Regions from separate parts of the Homo sapiens genome. Here region 1 is linked to region 2. The links are contacts of gene promoters, found by promoter capture Hi-C in human tissues and cell types (Jung and others, 2019). All regions are on one chromosome and are shown on one strand. The core of a region is centred on a gene start or on the middle of the fragment in contact, and the rest is flanking DNA. Distances in the headings are between cores, read along the strand shown. Region 1 overlaps FAM168A (family with sequence similarity 168 member A). Region 2 holds the start of PLEKHB1 (pleckstrin homology domain containing B1).

Evidence for each region. The method cuts DNA at HindIII sites, captures the fragments that hold promoters and counts their contacts. A contact is called where the count stands out against the background at its distance.
Region 1: a contact is called between a fragment that was not itself captured here and the fragment with the promoter of PLEKHB1 in region 2, in 1 of the 25 tissues and cell types used here (mesenchymal stem cells).

The regions. Positions count from the first base shown.
Region 1 is chr11:73,441,755-73,444,958 of GRCh38, forward strand. The region is part of intron 2 of FAM168A (family with sequence similarity 168 member A); the gene reads right to left. Among named protein-coding and RNA genes, the nearest start is that of RELT, 67 kb to the left of the region's middle. The HindIII fragment of the contact is 7,363 bases long and covers 1-3,204 here.
Region 2 is chr11:73,644,658-73,647,830 of GRCh38, forward strand. PLEKHB1 (pleckstrin homology domain containing B1) reads left to right here and starts at 1,924. Exons shown (of 8, transcript NM_021200.3): 1 at 1,924-1,969. The coding sequence starts at 1,952. RefSeq lists enhancers at 1,489-2,407, 3,043-3,173 and a silencer at 2,783-3,002. The HindIII fragment of the contact is 18,602 bases long and covers 1-3,173 here.

The DNA of each region.
Region 1 (3,204 bases), core at 445-2,944, 200 kb before region 2:
GAATTTGTCTATTTCACCTAGGTGCCTAATTTGTTAGCATACAATTGTTCACGGTCTTACCTCATATTCCTTTTTATTTCTATTAAAAGTCTGTAGTAATGTCCTCTGTATCATTCTTGATTTTAGTAATTGGAGACTTCTCTCTTTTGTTCTTCATCAGCCTAGCTAAAGCTAAAAAGGTTTGTTGATTTTGCCAGTCTTTTAAAATAACCAACTTTTGGTTTATTGATTTTCTCTGTTTTTCTCCATTTTATTTCACTGATTTCTTTATCATGTCCTTTCCTGTACTTGATTTAGGCTTCATTTGCTCTTTTTCCCCGCAGTGTGTTAAGGTGAAAGATTCAGTTATTGAGTTGAGGTCTTTCTTCTTCTTTTTTTTTTTTTTTTTTGAGACGGAGTCTCACTCTGTCGCCCAGGCTGGAGTGCAATGGCACAATCTCGGCTCACTGCAAGCTCCACCTCCCGGATTCACGCCATTCTCCTGCCTCAGCCTCCCGAGTAGCTGAGACTACAGGCGCCCGCCACCACGCACGGCTAATTTTTTGTATTTTTTAGTAGAGATGGGGTTTCGCCGTGTTAGCCAGGATGGTCTCGATCTCCTGACCTCATGATCCGTCTGCCTCAGCCTCCCAAAGTGCTGGGATTACAGGCATGAGCCACCGCGCCCGGCCTCTTCTTTTTTAATGTAAGCACTTACAGCTATAAATTTCCCAGACATTTTGGTATGTTATGTTTCATTCATCTCAAAGTATTTTCTCATTTTCCTTGTGATTTCTTTTTTGACCCACTGGTTATTTAGGAATGTGTCATTTAATTTTCACGTAACTGTGAATTTCTCAAATTTCTTTCTGTTACTGATTTCTAATTTTGTTCCACTGCAGTCACAGAACATACTTTGGTATGAGTTCAATCCTTTATACGTACTGAGAGTTGTTTTATGGCCTAGCACACTGTCTATCCTGAAGATTGTTCCATGTATTCTTGAGAATTATATTCTATTATTGGAGTGCCCTCTAGGTGACTGTTGGGTATACGTGGTGTACAGTGTTGTTCAAGGCTTCTATTTCTTTTCTTTCTTTCTTTCTTTTTTTTTTTTTTGAGACAGAGTGAGTAAAGATGCTGACAGTAAAGGAAAGGAGAGGAAGTGACAGCTTGAGGAGACAGAAGAGTCCACAGGAATTTTCCTTTATATATACAAAGGATATATATATATATATATATATATATATATATATATATATATGCCAAGCCTTTTTTCCACCCTTAAAAATGGAGGAAATTAGGAGCACATAACTAAAGGCATCTTTGTTTACATTTACACTCAGGTTGCTAAAGTTCACTTTTATACTTATTTTATCATCCCAAAGCCTGTATCCTACAACCTTTCTTAGCCCTTTCCCAGTGCTATAATTAGTTGTAGGCTGGAAAGCCAAAAATCCATGCTTTTTAGAATTATGTATACATTAAATGTTAATACTTGAGCGACTGCCTTCAAAAATAAGCCAAGTGCACAAACTTTGGCCAATTTAACTAAATAAATACTTATTTGAGCACTTAATGTGTGCTAAGTGCTATAATGAATGCAAAAGGAAGACATAATTCTTGCCCTCCGTGAACTCACCATCTAATGAGAAAGACAAGCAAGAACATAAGTAACCCTGATATTAGGCTGCCAGGGACAAAGGCCATCACAGAGGGAGATATAAGCGTTGTGAGAGAAGAGGGAAGAAAGACGAAAAGACTTTTAATCTGGTCTGGCTTCTGGATTGGAAAGGTTGCTGCAACTCCAAGTTAGTGACAGGAGATACCTTAAATAGAGTGTTACCTGTGCTCAGGTCATGTCCCCTTCCCTACTGTTGTGGACACTGACAGCAGGTGTCAAACTGAGACAACCTGTAGTGTTATGCAACAGTGGCGCTTCATTTATAGGCAGACCTAGGTTTAAATTCCAGCTCTTTTACTTTTTAGCTCTGTGACTTTGGGCAAATCACTTCAATTTTCAAAGCCTGGGTTTTGATATTTTAAAAAATAGACACAATCAGTTAACTTACTTATTGGTAAATAATTTTTGAGTATCTATTCTATGTTAGCACCAGTGTCCTTTTTTCCTTCTCCTGTATCTGCATGTGGGCCGGCTTGGAAGGTGAGCAGGGCCAGGCCAGAGTAAGTTCAGAGCAAGCCCTAAACTTACTTCGTAGAGACCCATCTAAACATTCTTACTGTGAATCAAAAGAAGATATTTCCTCCTCTGGCTATCCTAAAGGAGCCATCATAGTCCAGTGGGAAGAACGGGGGTTCTGAAGGCAGGCAGTGTGGATTCAAAAGTCAGCTGTACCATTTACCAGACATAATATCATAGAAAAGTCCCTTTACCTAATCCTCATGAACACAAGGATATCCTATACTGCAGGCCAGAAAATTATAAAAGATGGCATGCAAAGCAACTAGCATAAATACTTGGCACAGAACAGTAAGTACTTCAGTAAATAATAGTCTCCCACCCATGCCCTTTTCATTAAAAGTTCCCTGTTGGAAACAATTGTGTTTGCCCATGGATTTTAAGATTGTTTGATGAAAAATCTTCCAGATCCTCAATCATGTGCCTTATCACCCTGCCTTTCCCTCAACTCTCACATGGCTCCAGCTGGTTAGGCCTATTATTGTTTGACCAAGCACAAGCTGGACAAAAGCAAGCTTCTAGTCAGCATGGCTTTTTGTAGAAACAGTAAACCAGTCATTCTCTGAATACAGGTAATTTTTTGTATACTGTTGTGAGTATGTGTATTTACAATCTTTTGTGCATTTTAAAACATTTTTGTCCCTCTTTAAAAAATTGTAAATGAAAGTGTCCCCACATTTTTGCCTTTTTATTTGTAATTTATTTCAGTCTATTATTTCTGCTTTATGCTACTAGCTAATAGTGAAAGTTCAAACAACCTAAATGTCTACCAACAGGGCATTAGCTGAAACAAATCTAAACCCAATCTAGAATTCCTTAAGTAAATTAAGGTGAGTTATACAACAGTACATAGCATATACTCTCATTTTTGTTGAAAAACAATGTATGTATGTTCATTTTAAAAGACCTAGAAAAACAGATATACAATTATTAGTGTTCCTCTATGTTCTTCTCATGTCAGTATTCTCTATTTTTTCTAAAATGAGCATACACTGTTTTGGAAATAAGGTAAAACAACAAGAGAA
Region 2 (3,173 bases), core at 674-3,173:
GTTGTCCAGGTTGGAGTGCAGTGGTGAAATCTCGGCTCACCACAATCTCTGCCTCCCGGTTCAAGCAATTCTCCCGCCTCAGCCTCCCTAGTAGCTGGGATTACAGGCATGTGCCACCACACCCAGCTAATTTTGTATTTTTAGTAGAGATGGGGTTTCTCCATATTGGTCAGGCTGGTCTCGAACTCCCGATCTCAGGTGATCTGCCCGCCTTGGCCTCCCAAAGTGCTGGGATTACAGGCATGAGCCACAGCGCCCGGCCATTTAAAATGTTTTCATAAGCACTTTTACTTTTGCTCAAATTGCATCTTGATATAAACTTCAAGTTTTTTAAAATAAAGATAATATAAATTATTCTCATTATATTATACTCTCTAGAAAATGTAAGTAGTAAATTTGAATTTGATGAGCCAGTCCACTATTTCCTAAACAATGTATTATCTGTGGGCTGTTCATTCACCAGGGACACTTGAAATGGCAAAATCTTTTCCTCTCTGCCAATGGTTCTGTGCACCATAGCCACAAAGAAATGTAAAAGTTACTTGTTGGCTTATTAGTCTCAATAAGTTTTAGTTGATTGAACAAACAAAGTCTCTCACAGCCAGGACTGCTGCGGCTGGAATTCCTGACATACTGTCATACCTCTCACTCGTCAATCTACACTCTCCTCCCATCTACACAGCTCTGGAAATTAAAAACAATCCAACCATGACTATCATGGCTTCAGAGGTCTATGAACTCCCAGGAATTATACGCAGATTTTTTCCTGAGGACAGTCTACACTTCCTTATTGGCTTCTCAAAGAGGGTCACTGACCAGCTTTTAGAGACATGGGCCAAGTCCGGCTACGTTTAGATTCGGTAGTAGTGTCTGTGGTTTTAGTTTGCCACGTCCTTTCCTCTTTTTTTCGTCATAGTGCCCGCTCTTTGGGAGGTAGGGGAGAGTCTTCCCCTGAAGTCTCCACTGCTGCTGGAGAACCTTCCTTTTTCATCTGGTTGCTAAATCCAGAGAATGAAATCTAGGAGATGATTGCACCGTCCCCGCCCCTCAACATGAAGGATGCCCCACTGCCCATCGGGGAGGGGAGCAGGGAGAGCTGGAGAGAGGCTGGGTCGGGGCAGGACCCAGGCGCAGATCCTCCGAGGCCAGCTGCAGCCCTACCTACCTGCCTTCCCGTCTTTCCCCTCCCTTCTTTTCTCCTTCTGTCTTTCCTTCCTTCCATATCTCTTTCCTTGCCTCTTTCCCCCTCCCACTGCTTCCTTTCTTCCTTCCACTGTGGAGGTGGAAAATTTAGCTAGGAGAAGCTGGGACTGGGACGTTCCAGGAACCAGACAGAGAGTGAGTTAAAGGCACAGAGATGAAAACGCGGTATGGGAGAGCTGGTTCTTGAGTCGGCTAAGAGGGGATGAACTCAATGGTTAATAGGATTGGCCATGGCGAATCCCTCAGCAGGGCACGCACCGCACAAAGGGCCGAGGAGCGAGGGTAGCTCGAGGTCAGGATTACAGAGACTCAGGAGCAAGAGAGGAAGGCTTAAAGAGCCAGACTGCGCAGCCAGGACTGGGGTGATGGGCGCTGTCCTGCCAGGCCAAAGAATGAAGATGTAGCCCCGCCCCCAACCTAGGGAGGAGGACCAGCCCGGTTCCTGTCCTGCCCCCGCAACCTCGCCCCGATTCCACTCCGGGAACCTCGGCGATGCTGAGCCAAGACCACTTCTGAATCAGGGATGACTTGTCTAGTGAACCTAGGGTCAGAGCCATCAGTTGGAAAGGCTGGGAGGAGCCTGGAGAAAGAGGGCGACCTTCCTTGGGATCTGTGCGCTCCCTCCTTGCCTCCCCCTCCAGCCTCCCACTTGGTAGCACCTTCCTGATCCCCTTATCTCTAAGGCGCTCAGGGAAATGCCCCGCTGCGGGAGCCTTCTGGGAAATGCTGCCCTGGCCACCCAGGAACCATGAGCCCTGCAGCCCCGGTAAGGAAGAGTTCTCTGGGACAGGAGGAAGGGCCCAGGGCAGGGTGGGCACCCTTGCCACATAGGGGACGGGACAGAAGTCTTTTAGGCCCTGACATCCTCTGGTCTCTGAATGACATCCTGTGGCTGCTGGTAGGTGAGGGTTTGCGGGGCTGAGCTATTGAAGGAAATGATCACAGTCCGAGGTGATAGATACAGAAAGTCTTCCTTTCTCCAGGTGGGCTCCCGCCAGTCCATTCTTCACTGTGCCCTAGAGGGGCCTTTCCGACCCCCTAATCACACACCTCACTCCTCATCTTGAAACTCCCACCCCCAGCTCCAGTCACTGCGTCCTAACATCCAAGCTCTCCGCCTGTCATGCAAGGCCTCTGTGCTATTTCTTTCCAAACCCTGCAGCTCTATCGCCTGACACTCCCGATGCCCTCCCCACCCCTGCGCTTTATGTTCTAGACACACGGAAATGCTGGGCACTCTTCAACATCCTGACAGTATTCATAGGGGAAATTTCGGGTCGCCTAGGAAACTGCCCCTCATCCTCCAAGGCCCCTTTCAGCCTCCTCTGGGAAGCCTTCCTGAACCCCTTGAGAAAAGTCAGGCTCATCTTTTCCATTGTTAAATCACACCTTGTGCTCCAATTGTGTGTTTCCATGTAATCTCCCTCACTAGACTGGAAGCTGGGGATGGAAAGGGGAAGCATCAAAAAAACATGCAAAACTAGGAGCTTGGCTTCTCCTTGCAACTTTACTTTTTCTTTTTTTCTAGGAACTGAGTTCAATGATTCTTAAGAAAAAGTATTTCATGATAAATGAGTGAACAAATGTCTTAATAGAAAAGTAAAATTGCAGGCGGGGCTGCTTCTGCCCAGCTCTACAGGGGTAGACTACAAGTCCCAGTACGCCTCGGGTCAGCATCTCTTCACGTCACTCCCCCTCCCTGGGGTGGGCAGGTCCGGAGGGCGGGGCCCGGGGGCAGCTGGGCTCTCAGGCGCTGCGGGAGGAGAGAAATGCCCCAGGCTCTCCGGGGCACACAAAGCGCAGGCGCAGCGGGTTGGGTGGCAGCAGCATCGAGTAGCGGCCGCTTAGGCAGCAACATCCGCAACAAGTGTAGACAAGGTGGGTGCATCAAGGGGAGGGGCTGGAAAAGGAGTCTGCACCTGACCCTCTTGTCTGATCTGTGTCAAGACCGTGGAGAGGGGAGGGAGCGG